Regions from separate parts of the Homo sapiens genome. Here all the other regions are linked to region 2. The links are contacts of gene promoters, found by promoter capture Hi-C in blood cells and fetal thymus (Javierre and others, 2016). All regions are on one chromosome and are shown on one strand. The core of a region is centred on a gene start or on the middle of the fragment in contact, and the rest is flanking DNA. Distances in the headings are between cores, read along the strand shown. Region 1 overlaps DNAJC1 (DnaJ heat shock protein family (Hsp40) member C1). Region 2 holds the start of ARMC3 (armadillo repeat containing 3). Region 3 has its middle 13 kb from the start of DNAJC1. Region 4 overlaps DNAJC1 (DnaJ heat shock protein family (Hsp40) member C1).

The links. Contacts are between HindIII fragments. The CHiCAGO score rates a contact against its expected background, and 5 or more counts as called.
Region 1: a contact is called between a fragment that was not itself captured here and the fragment with the promoter of ARMC3 in region 2, in 1 of 17 cell types (naive CD8 T cells). The highest score is 5.1, in naive CD8 T cells.
Region 3: a contact is called between a fragment that was not itself captured here and the fragment with the promoter of ARMC3 in region 2, in 4 of 17 cell types (endothelial precursors, total CD8 T cells, activated CD4 T cells and 1 more). The highest score is 8.1, in endothelial precursors.
Region 4: a contact is called between a fragment that was not itself captured here and the fragment with the promoter of ARMC3 in region 2, in 1 of 17 cell types (naive CD8 T cells). The highest score is 5.5, in naive CD8 T cells.

What each region holds. Positions count from the first base shown.
Region 1 is chr10:21,979,330-21,982,503 of GRCh38, reverse strand. All of the region lies in intron 1 of DNAJC1 (DnaJ heat shock protein family (Hsp40) member C1), which reads left to right. Among named protein-coding and RNA genes, the nearest start is that of DNAJC1, 23 kb to the left of the region's middle. The HindIII fragment of the contact is 2,258 bases long and covers 382-2,639 here.
Region 2 is chr10:22,926,657-22,929,600 of GRCh38, reverse strand. It overlaps ARMC3 (armadillo repeat containing 3), which reads right to left and starts at 1,548. Exons shown (of 19, transcript NM_173081.5): 1 at 1,495-1,548. The HindIII fragment of the contact is 5,434 bases long and covers 1-2,944 here.
Region 3 is chr10:22,015,448-22,018,742 of GRCh38, reverse strand. No RefSeq gene overlaps it. Among named protein-coding and RNA genes, the nearest start is that of DNAJC1, 13 kb to the right of the region's middle. The HindIII fragment of the contact is 917 bases long and covers 918-1,834 here.
Region 4 is chr10:21,995,991-21,998,991 of GRCh38, reverse strand. All of the region lies in intron 1 of DNAJC1 (DnaJ heat shock protein family (Hsp40) member C1), which reads left to right. Among named protein-coding and RNA genes, the nearest start is that of DNAJC1, 6.2 kb to the left of the region's middle. The HindIII fragment of the contact is 6,758 bases long and covers 1-3,001 here.

The DNA of each region.
Region 1 (3,174 bases), core at 261-2,760, 950 kb after region 2:
AGATATATAATTAGCAAATATTTTCTCCCATTCTGTGGGTTGTTTATTTACTCTCTTACTAGTGTCCTTTGATGCACAAAAGGTTTTCATTTTGATGAGGTCCAATTTATTATTTTTTTCTTTTTTTTGCCTGTACCTCTGTCATATCAAAAAATCATCACCAAATCTAATATCATGAAGTTTTTTCCCATATATTTTCTTCTAAGAGTTGTATAGTTTTAACTCCTATGTTAGTCCTTGATCTATTTTTAAGTCAATTTATATATATGATGTGAGGCGTCAAAGAAAAGTAGAGCCTGACAGTAGTTAAAGCAGTAAAAGCAAATTTTAATCAGGAACAGTTGCAGTAGGAGAAAAGAGACTTCGTTACAGAATGAAGCTTAATTCTGAATACAACATGGAAAGTGGAGATTTATAGCCAAGGAACAGGGTCAGTGGATGGAAGATTAGAGGAAACATCAGAGTTAAGGGGGTCTCTGGTGAAACCAATTTGACAAGGTTTTTGCCAAAGGCAGGCCAAGGTAATCAGGTATCGCCTGGGGGTTGGTGGGGAATGAGGAATTTGGTCAGATATATTGAGGGTGATCGGATATCAATGGTAGGGTTTCTGGCTTAACTCTCTTAGCAGAATTCTTGCTAAAATTGGACGATGCAAAGGAGGAGATAGAAGTTCAAAGGTTGAGGCCTAGCTGTGAAGATGGTTTAGAGGAGCCTGACTAGAGTTTAGTCAAGGAGACAGTCTTTGTTAAAGGTAAGGGTTCAATTTTATTCTTTTGCATGCAGATATCCAGTTTTCCTGGCACCGTCTGCTGAAAAGGCTGTTTTTGAATACACATATTATCTCATGTAATCTTTAAAACAGCCCTACTTAGTAAGGCATTTTTTCCCCATTTTACAAATGAGGAAATTGAATTTCAGAGACTTGCCCAGTCTCAGAAAACTAACAACTTGTGGAGCTTATCTGTTAGGCTCAAAGATCATAACTGTTATTTTGTAATTGTTTCTTACTATTTAAATGTTACCTATTCTTAAAGGCCCAGCCCAAATTTAATCCCATTATTAAAGATTTTCTCCATTGCTTGCTCTTCCAATCAGATATGACTGCTCTCAATTCCATGGCAAATTTTTAATAGATTCTTAATTTATAGTACACCGCAAATGGTATGTGCTGAATACATGCCAAGTGAGTAAATGATAGAATTATCATTCAGAATAATCTAACTGGTCTCCATACCATCGTAAACTATGAGTTGAAAGGATGGAAGTAATCAGGGAAAAATGTAATTCTACATTTTGCTTGAGAAAATCATTTGCACAAATATAAAACGGGGAGATCTGGTTTGACTTCAGTAAAGATGAACACTCAGGTTTTAGTTGTTTACATGCTGAATTAGGCCAACAGCATTATGCATCTGCTTTTAAAATTCAACTCTAATTTGCATTAATAAACATAGAAACAGAGAGTGACTTGATCACAGAAAATGAGAAATTTAATGCAATCTCCATCAATGTATTATAAACACTCCTGGTACCACACTTAAGGAGGAATATTAACAAACTGAATTTTTTTTTAAGGGGAGCTACAAATACAGTAGGGTTTCTGGGAATCTTGCCCAAAAAGAAGAACACATTTAGTCTGAAAAGGAAAGGCTAAGGAAATATGTGATCACTGACTTCAAATATTAGACTTAAGAAATATATTTTAAAACTTTTTATGTATAATTTTTCATTTTGAAATAATTTTAGGCTTAACAAAAGGTGGCAAAAATAATACAGTTCTCATATACCTTTCACCTGGCTTTCTCAGATGTAACCTTAATAAATTGATAAAAACCAGGACATTAACACTGTTACAGTGTTATCTACAGATGTTATTCAGATTTTCCAGCTGTCCCATTAACATCCTTTTCCTGGTGCAGAATCACACATTTAGTTGTTTTATCTCATTTATGTCCACTCTGGGACAGTTCCTCAGTCTTTCTTGACCTTGACACTTTTGGAGAATATTGGACAGTTATATTTTAAAGTGTCCCACAGTTTGGGTTTGTCTAATATTTCCTCATGATTAAATTCAAACTATGCATGTTTGTTATAAATACTATGGAAGTGGTGTGCCCTTTTCAGTGTATTGTATCAGGAGGCACATGATATCCATATATCTCATCACAGATGATGTTAACTTTGATCATTTGGTTAAGTGTCTGCCAGGTTTCTCCACCGTAAAATTACTATTTTCTCTTTGTTAATTTCTTTGTAGGAAATTACTTCTTAATGGACAGAACTAGGAAATATATGTGTGTATATGTGTATATAGTTTGTTCAATATCTGGATTTTGTGCCTGTTTTTGTTCACTGCCATTTCTAGCACTTGTTTAGCCCTGTGGTCAGTAGATATTTGTAGCTAATAATATAGAATAGTGTAAAGTTAGACTAGATAACCTAAGGACTTTCCAGCCCCGCAACTCTGTTAATGTTTTGATTCTGGAAAAATAAGCTGGGGAACAAGACAAAAATAAACTCTGAACAGGATTCATAATAAGCAGAATGCAAAAGTCATAGGACTTTTGACTGCAAAAGTCATAGGAGCAGACATATGCAGTTTTGACATATGACTGCAAAAGTCATAGGAGCAGAAAGCTTTGATTATTATCAAAAACAATGAAGGTGTCAAAGGCCTGGAACAAAGTTTGCTGTGGGTAGGTAAGAAAGAGAAGCTTGATAATCGTTTTATCCATTGTACCTTAGCCGGATTGACTTGCAGAAGGTAAAGCCATGGTGAAAAAAAAAAAAAGAAAAATTATAAATAAGGATATCTCCTTTACAGGTATTCTGTCTTTAGTTTACTTTCCATTATTTCTTACTTTATCCAGGTAGACCAGATCCAAGTACATGTATTCCCACTGTAAAACCATATATGGCTTCATATTCTGCAAAGTCACACCCTAAAAATAACAGTACCTATGGGAAAAATAGGGTTGAGGTACAGCGTTCAAAATCTGTGGAACCTTATAAGCACTCATGAAAATAATAATACTTTAAAAAATCAATTAAATCTCCTCTAGCATTTTAACCTGGCATCATAGTTCTTAAAATCCTTTAAACCCTTGTTCTCATGCTTCCTTATTTGGGATATAGATTCTTTAGATCAGTTGAATAAAAATACATATGATTCAG
Region 2 (2,944 bases), core at 299-2,798:
ACTCCAGCCTGGGTGACAGAGCGAGACTCTGTCTCCTCCCCCAAAAAAAGCCTATGTGTTTTATCACCATATTGGGTATGATAGTTAATGGAGGAGAGACTGAACAGCTGACATAGGTCGGTGGCAATGAGCTATGGAGATGATCCTTACAAGGGTAATACATTTCACTGTGGAGAATTTGGAAAACAAGGGCACAACGAATAAAATAAAAATCACCCAAAGATAAGCTCAGAGAGATCAATACTATTTCTTTTCTTTTCCTTTCCTTTCCTTTCCTTTCCTTTCTTTTTCTTTTTCTTTCTCTTTCTCTCTCTCTTTCTCTCTCTCTCTCTCCCTCTCTCTCTCTCTTCTCTTTTTTTCTTTTTCTTTTTCTTTTTTGAGACAGAGTCTCACTCTGTTGCCCAGGCTGGAGAGTGGCCTGATCTTGGCTCATTGCAACCTCCACCTCCCAGGTTTAAGAGATTCTCCTGCCTCAGCCTCCTGAGTAGCTGGGATTACAGGTACCCGCCACCACGCTCGGCTAATTTTTGTATTTTCAGTAGAGACAGGTTTCCCCACATTGACCAGGTTGGTCTCGAACTCCTGACTTCAGGCGATCCACCCGCCTCAGCCTCCCAAAGTGCTGGGGTTGTAGGCGTGAGCCACCGTACCTGGCTTTGTGTGTTTTTCTAAAGTGATTTTAACATCCTGCCTCAACTTCTATCCCCTACTTTCACCTTCCCTTCCTGGGTTCATATTCCTACTAAATTCTTATATTAACAAATAAATTCATGAAGTCTCAGTTTCCCTTCATTGCTTTAATAATCTCCAGTGGATTAGCATAACATGCCATTACAAATATTTTAAAATCCCTTAGCTATCTAGCCAGTCTCTGATTGTTGAAATTTGTTTCTAATTTTCTGGAAATATGGACAGGGCTGAAAGAACGTCCTTGGACATAAAATTTTCATCCATTATCCCCAACTATTTCTTTAGGATAAATCTCTAGCAGTAAATTAACTGGGTGAAAACTTCAGGGCATTGGATATGCAAACAACTCTGCTCTAAAAATGCATCTTCTTGACTACTGGAGCCATTTTTTTTTTCACGAGTTGATTGGTCCTTTGTATTTGTTCTTCGTGAACGTTCAGCCTATGATTTTAAATATTTTCTAATGAGTTCTGCTTTGAGAAGATTTAAAGAGGAGGAGGGCTCAAGAAATCGAGGCCACTTCTGAGTTGCTCACAGTCAAGTAACGGAATCTGACTTGATCTCACCTCAGATCCCCTCTCGGGCCTCAGTTTTGTCACCTGTTGAATGGGAGGTGGCGGGATGCTTACGAAACCCACCCCAAGCCCCGTCTAACCCTGCGGGCGCGAGGCAGAAACTAACAACGCCCAGCAAGGTGTTGCCTCACTGACCCAAGCAGTCTGCGCCCACGTGGCACCTTCTCCTTTCCCAGGTTTTCCTCAGGCCTCTGCCTTGGGCCTCCCCACCCCACGGGGTTACCTTTACCTGCCGGGAGATCCCGCCGAGTAGCTAGCTGCTCCGCAAACCCAGCAGACGAACCCCCAGTCCCTTGTTGTGCCTCGTTGCTAGGCGACGCCACGCCGCGCCGCGCCTGCGCCCTGGGAACGCTCGGGGCTGCTAGGGCGCCCATTGTCCCGCCGAGGGCAGCGGCCAGTGCGGGAGGAGCCAAGTGCGTCCGCGATTACCTGAATCCAGTGCTTTAGGGGAGAATGGAAACTGGGGGTGGAAGCTGTAAATCAAGAGGCAGTTCAGCCTCAGTTTCTGGCCCAAGGACTGGCTGTGGGTTCAAATACGCAAATACTATTGCATTCTTCCAAATAGAGGCGTCAGCCGGAATCTCTATGCAGATGAAACCCACATCAGCCACCTCCTGCCCAGGCTCCGTTAAGCTGCAGACCTGCACTGCCACATCTCTTTGCACTAGGATGTCCAATCCGTTTCCACAGAACTTCTCATGGCCCTTCAAAGCCCCGTTCTCTTCCTCTTTCTTTCCTCTTCCTGCCATTCTTCCAATTGCCTAGACTCAGAAGGAGCTTCAATTTCCCTTCTTCCTCCCATGCCCCCCAACCACAGTCATCACTTCAGCCACTTCTTGGCGGCTTACATTTTGTTTCCTGCTTGTTCCCTTTCTCATATCCTTATTGTCACTTCAATCCAGCTCGTCATTTTTTGGCCTTCTGGCTGAGAAATTCAGTTGCTCTCTGCTTACAGTTCTTTCTACGTATCACAGGCAAATCGGCCATCCAGAAATCATCGTTCCAGTCTTGTCACTTCCCTACTCAAATGTCAGCGGCTTCCTAAGATAAATTTTCAACACATTGGCCTGGAATTTAAGACCGTCTGCTCCATCTCTACTCCATCTGTGCAACCACATTTTCAACCGATCTCCACCATCCAAGCTCCAGCCAAACTTACTGTTCCCGAAATTTTCCACACTTTTCTCTAGATTTTCTTGCTTATCTGTTCATCACTTCATTTTTCAACAAATATTTATAAAGTAGCTTCTATTTCCCAGGTCATGTGCAATACCTGAAATATTCTCTCATTTCCACTTAATTAAGCCCAGCTCAAATGCCATCTTCATAAAATATTTTTTGATTGCCTTTAGCAAAAAGTCTCTCCCTCTCCTCTTAGACTTTGCAAATTCCGTCTCCTACCGGCCCCTGTTGGTCTCCCAGTCCTAAGAATGATAGATGCTTCTTATAATTGCTACTTTTATATATCTTATGTTCTCTTCTCACCATTTAAATTGCCTGATAAACAGCTTTATAACAATTATTTGTATTCAGTTTTCCATGGTCAAATATCCGGTGTGACTTCTGTATAGAAAAGATCTTAAGTAATGGTCATGAAAGTAGGAAAAGGATTAAGACCAAGTAGCATCAAGGAAACTAAGGAGGGAGTTTCAAGAATATAAGCGTCATCAAGTGTTATA
Region 3 (3,295 bases), core at 127-2,626, 910 kb after region 2:
GTATATGAGAAGGGTTATTTCTCTCTTTTATTCCATTGGTCTATATGTCCGTCCTTATGCCAGTACCACACTGTTTTGATTACTGTAGCTTTGTAGTAAATTTTGAAATCAGGAATTGTGAGTCCTCCAACTCTGTTCTTTTTAAAGATTGTTTTGGCTATTTGAAGTCCTTTGAGATTCCACATGAATTTTAGTATGGATTTTTCTCCTTTTGCAAAAATCACTGGTGGGATTTTGATAGGGATTACATTGCCTCTGTAGATCACATTGAATAGTATTGACATCTTCATGATATTGTCTTCCAATCCATGAACACAGGATGTCTTTCCATTTATTAGTGTTGTCTTTCATTTCTTTCAGCAATGTTTTATAGTTTTTATAGTTCTTTTCCCTTGGCTTGGTTAAGTTTATTCCTAAATTTTTTATTGTTATTGATGCTATTGAAAATAGAGCTGTTTTATAAATTTCCTTTTTAGGTTTTTTATTGTTAGTATATAGAAACACAACTGATTTTCGTGTGATTATTTTGTATCCTGCAACTTTGCTGAATTTACTAGTTCTAATAGAGTGTGTGTGTGTGTGTGTGTGTGTGTGTATCTGTAATCTTTAGCCTTGCATTTACCTTTGATTTTTCCCTTTCTCTCTTGCCTATATATGCAAATAACCACCAGCTCATTTCAGTTTGTTTTGATTTCACAGTGTTTCTGATCTTTGACTCTCTTTAGTCTCCTTGCAATCCAATGTGATCAAATGACATTTGTATCCAGAATGTCTGGGATGGTGTGTGAAGAATTCATTTTCTAAAATAGTCATTTTATCTTGCTTTCCCACTCAAAACTCTAGGAGTTTCATGTAACAGTAGAGCTTCCAGTCTACTCCCCCCCTCATCTCAGAGGTAGCACTAGTAGTTAAAAGCTTAGGCTCTGGGGTCAGGAGGACCTGGTGGAGGTGGAGATGCTGCTTACTAGCTGTGTAGCCATAGTTAAGTTTCTCAGACCTGCTCATTCTTTTTTCAGCTGGAAACTGGTGATCATAATAATAACTCCCTTGTAGGGTTATTGGGAGGCTTAAATGGAATAATGAATGTAAAGCATTTAGTGAAATACTCTCTTTCCTGTCCTCTCTCCCTTTGAGGCCTTTAGCTTGACTGTTTCTCCAAAGACACAGATGAAACTGATCTCCTGCCTCCTCTTATCTGTGTTACTCTTTTGGCACTTACCACCTACTTCCTTGTACTGTTTATTATCTTTTTGTGTGTATCCGTGTTATCTTTCCTACCAAATTGTAAATTCTCCAAGGACTGAGAGATTGTCTTTTTTTTCTCTTCTTGTGTTTGTGGCATGTTGTAATACAATGACTTACGACATGGTAAAAGCTGAGTCAATATTTGCTGTTTAATTGTTTGACATAATGAAATCCTTCGGTGGCCTGATTTCCAACATCTTGAGAACTGATATTTCATTTATTTTATCTGAGTTTTTTTTTCAGTGTTTCAGACTTCCGATATTCATCTTGGTCAGAAGTATTAGTTCCCTACTTCGATTTTTAAAAGCTGACAACATTTAAAGATCACTAACAAGAAAGTATTAAAGATGTCGTTACTTCCTGGAAACCATCTGAGTATATTTCAACCTATGTCTCTATCAAAAGTGGGAAAAACGAAGATAGACCAGGGTGGCCAGATAACATACCCAGTTATATCTGAATGTCAGATAAACAACGAATGACTTTTTCATATAAGTATGTCTCATGCAATAGTTGCTTATCTGACATTCAATTTAATTAGGTATCCTGTATTTTTATTTGCTAAATCTGACAACCCTACCATGAAGCTTTAAGTTTCAGGGAAAAAGGAAAATGGGCATAAGCATTATTCTTTTGGAAATGAGACTATTCCTCTGTACTTAAAACAAAATGTTTCCGTGTCAAAAGAATACAGCTTGAGAGGTCATTATGAAACAACTTTTTACAACTATGACCTTACCTAAGATATGTGATGATAAAGCTAATGAAAGATAACATTAACTGAAATATTGACAAACAATGCTTTTGAATATGAATGAAAACATTGTTTCTGTGAAATGCAATTGTGTACCAAATCAAAGAACTGGCTGGGCTTAAAAATCTTTTCTAATGAGTACGTAAAATTGTCATAGCATTTGCATATCTCTGTCTTCCTGAAAATACTGCTGCTCGGTCTGTTGAAAGCATGACCTTGAACTTGCAGGAAATCTTGAGAAATTATCTGTGGCAAGTCCTACCACAACTGAGAAGAACATAATATAAATCAGAATTTCTTGGCTATATTTACTCAGGATGGCAATGAGAATTTTTATGTGATTGAAGAACTTTTGGACATATTATTCATTATGGCACCATCTTAGTATCTAACTTGTTTTTGAGTCATGAATAGTTTAATACATACTAATCAAAAATGAGTAATTGCAAGCAGTGTTTCTGTGGAGTCAGAGTTAACTTTGGACTTGTTACCAATGTAACCAATGATTTTCATCAATACAGCCGGTGAGTCAATTCATCACATCCTTTACCAAGTCCTTCACTTGGCCCCGGGTAGTGAAACATGGACGTCATCTTGGAAGTAGTAGCTTACTTAGAGCTGGATACTTTACTATAGCTTACTTGATTGTTTTTTTGTAGGAATCTGATGTAATACAGTCATATATCTGGCAGGAATCTGACATAATACCGTCGGTTATAACTCTGAGAGAGAGACAGGAGTCTTCATTTTTAAATTCAATAATATTTATTGAAAGCCCAATGTAGGCTAATCACTAGTTAGAGGAATGAACAAGATAAAGTCCTTGCTATCATGGAGCTTGCATTCTAGTGAGCAAATCAGACAATAAACAAATGATGCATAAACAAGGGAAATTAACCAAGTGGTAGCAGAGAAGTGCTATGCAGATGATTTAATAAGGTAGTGATGTTTTTTTAAGTTAGGTGATGTTGGGGCTCAGAAACAGATATCCCAAAATATGGTGCTTAGACATGTGGAACTGAAGACGAAGCCTCAAGGTCTCTCTGACTATCCCCCCACCTTCTGTCTCTCATCTGTTGTCTCTGTCAAAGCAAAGGATGAAGCTGTTCTCTGAAGTTCCCTTATCTGCTTAAAATTTGGGCCTGTCAAAGAAAATAATTACCTCTGTTGCCTTCCCTGAGTGTATTTCATTAACTGAACTCACAGGGCCCGAAGAAAGACTGAAGTCTGTCAACACACCTGGACAGACTTGTCACAAACCACTGTCTGTTCTGCAGGCCCAACAGACTTTGTCCC
Region 4 (3,001 bases), core at 43-2,542, 930 kb after region 2:
CTTGGACCAGACCACCTTATGACCTTGGACAAGTTAGTTGCCTCATTTTTAGGACAGATGGTAGCTTTTTATTTTCTTCATAGTAAGGCACATAGTAAACACCTAAATATTTATTGAATCAAACATTATAAACATTGTAACTAAATGCAAACTGTAATTCCCCAAACAAGTAGTTGCTTGACAGTTTTTACTCAACAGATTTTACTTCTATGTAATCTTTCACAGCCTTCAGGCAGCAGAAGAATCTTCTTCCATGTATCCTTAGATTTCACGTCCATTCTAGAAGTCTAGAAAGGGGTTGCAGAAGTCTTTGTTGGGGGGTATATACAGATGATTTATTAGTCATTCATACCATGTTTAGAATGACTTTAATAATAGGGCACTCCAATTTGGATATTGCATCTTTTCAGAGGAGATGGGGGGAAGATGAGAGAGGAGTGTAGGAAAAAAGATGTGCTATTGAAAGATCTTTCGTTACCATCTTAAATTATAGGTTCCTGCACAGTATTTATATTTTGTGTAACAGCACCTGCTTCTCAGACACCTGTACTTCTTGTGGGGTCAGTGGCAATTCTGTATTTCTTTTTTTTTTTTTTTTTTTTGAGATGGAGTCTTGCTCTGTCGCCCAGGCTGGAGTGCAGTGGCGCGATCTTGGCTCATTGCAACCTCTGCCTCCTGGGTTCACGCGATTCTCCTGCCTCAGCCTCCCGAGTAGCTGGGATTACAGGCACCTGCCACCATGCCTGGCTAATTTTGTATTTTTAGTAGAGATGGGGTTTCGCCATGTTGGTCAGGCCGATCTTGCACTCCTGACCTCAGGTGATCCACCCACCTCGGCCTCCCAAAGTGTTGGGATTACAGGCGTGAACCACTGCGCCCAGCCTCTATATTTCTTTTAATTGTCTTTTGGGACCATGACTTTCCTTATCCTTTGTATACAGTAATTCTAGCCAACAGTAAACACTTCATATTCATTTAAAAAAATCTGTGAATTGAAATAATGACAAGCTAAATTATCTTAAATTTTGTAGTATTTACTTTATGCTGAAGTCAAGATTTGTCTTCATGGTGCCAGTCAGTCATTACAGACTTCTATTTATGTAGCTAGAAAATGTGCTTCATTCTCTTTCTCTCGTGTTTTATAACTAAATCCTTATATTCAAATGAATGCTGAAACTTGGTTAACAGAAGAAAAGCAGAAGAACAGGGATGTGCTTATAAAATATTTGGATTTTAATTTTTAGATAGGAATTAATAAACCTTTTAAGCTCATTCGGCCTGTATTTTCAAATGTACAGATTAGCTAGCCTGTTTAGAGGAGGGACAATTATTGCCCATTCATCCGTGCCCCATGGTTGGGAGGAACTTCCCTAAAAAAACACCACTGATCACTAGACCCATCTCTAACATCTTACCATGGCGGTGTGAGTTACCTTACTGGAGGGTGATTGCCTTTGCTCTGTTTTGCTTGATTAGGAAGAGCTGATCAGTCAGAAAGCTATGAGTAGTGGGAATCAGTCTCTTTGCACCTCTCTGCCCAGACCAGTAAGGCAATTATCCTAACCAGACTTACCCTTGAGCATACTGTCTCAAAGTCTAGAATGTAGAGGAGAGGGCACAAATTGCTAGCAAGCCCATTTGGCCATCACATTTAACCTGTATTCTTCAATAGCTGTATCAGTTATAAAGGTTCATCTCTTGTCTGCCCGACTCCTGTGTCCACTCAGTTTTTTGGATGGGAAAAACCAGTTAATGGGGCCTCCCTAAAGCCCATCACAGTCCTTTTTAGAAATGAAGATGATGATTTCATTCATGAATGATGGTGAATTTGTACTGTGATTATCAATTTTGTCCAGTGATTCTTGCAGTGGAATCCACTGAGCTTGTGGTGTTGAGTGTAGTTCAGTCTTTCTCTGTGGAGTCTATTCCTTTGTACATGTGTGTTGTGTAATAATAGCTTCCCCATTTTTATTGTAGAATCCAATTTTTTTTAATTTGGAGAAAGAGATACACAGAATCTAGAATGGTAGATAACCTTTCAGTCATTTATATTTCTGATGTAGGCATGCATAGCGTTAGAGCTGAATAAGTACTTGTTTAATTGTATACATCTTTGCATCAGATAGAATTATCATAAAATTAGTTTTCTTATGTACACACTCTTTTTGTGATATGTATAGTTTAGTGGAAGATGCCTGAGCCAATTTTATGGGATAAAGCAAGTCTATTGTGAAAATTTTGCCACATATAATCTAGAGCTGATGGAACAGAGACTTTCTTTTAGTTTTAAGTTTCCTTTTTCCTTTTATGCTATTCTCAGTTTTTTCTTTACACTAATTATGAGAACACTCTTAGAATATTGTATCTTTTGTTATTCATAGACAATAGCCTAAGTTGAACTGGGAAAGTGGAATGGCTTCTGCTATTACAATTATTCCTAGAAATATATTCTAAAACGTTATATGGGTTACCAGTTTACCTAGTGATTGGTTTAATGTGGTTAATTTCACAATCATATTTTGTTCAATGTTGAGAATAAAACAGAGGTTGAGGTTATTTGACTTGATTGCTGAGAGGAGAATTTATATGGCAGTTGTAAGTAATGCCAATAAAAGTTGTTTGATAAAATGCCTAGTGTCTGTAATAAACCTTTTCTCAGCTTTGTTATGCTCTCTCTCAGTGAACTGCTTATTCCATAAATGGTACTATGTGACTTTCAGAACTGTTTTCCACTGTGGGCATTATTGGGTCTGTTTAGACAGTAATGATACCAGTTAATTCCACCTAGTTGAAAACAATTCCAAAGCCTTTCTTACAGAGTTATACAAAAATAAAGGAAAGGAATTGCAGTGGAAAGAGAGATTTCTGATTGGATGAAGCAGGACCCTAGATCATTTTATAATGAAGTCACAGTCATATTTTCAAAAATCTTTATTTTCATCAAAACACTTAATTGTAAAAGATGGGCCCTATACTAATGAATGTAAAAATATGATTACAT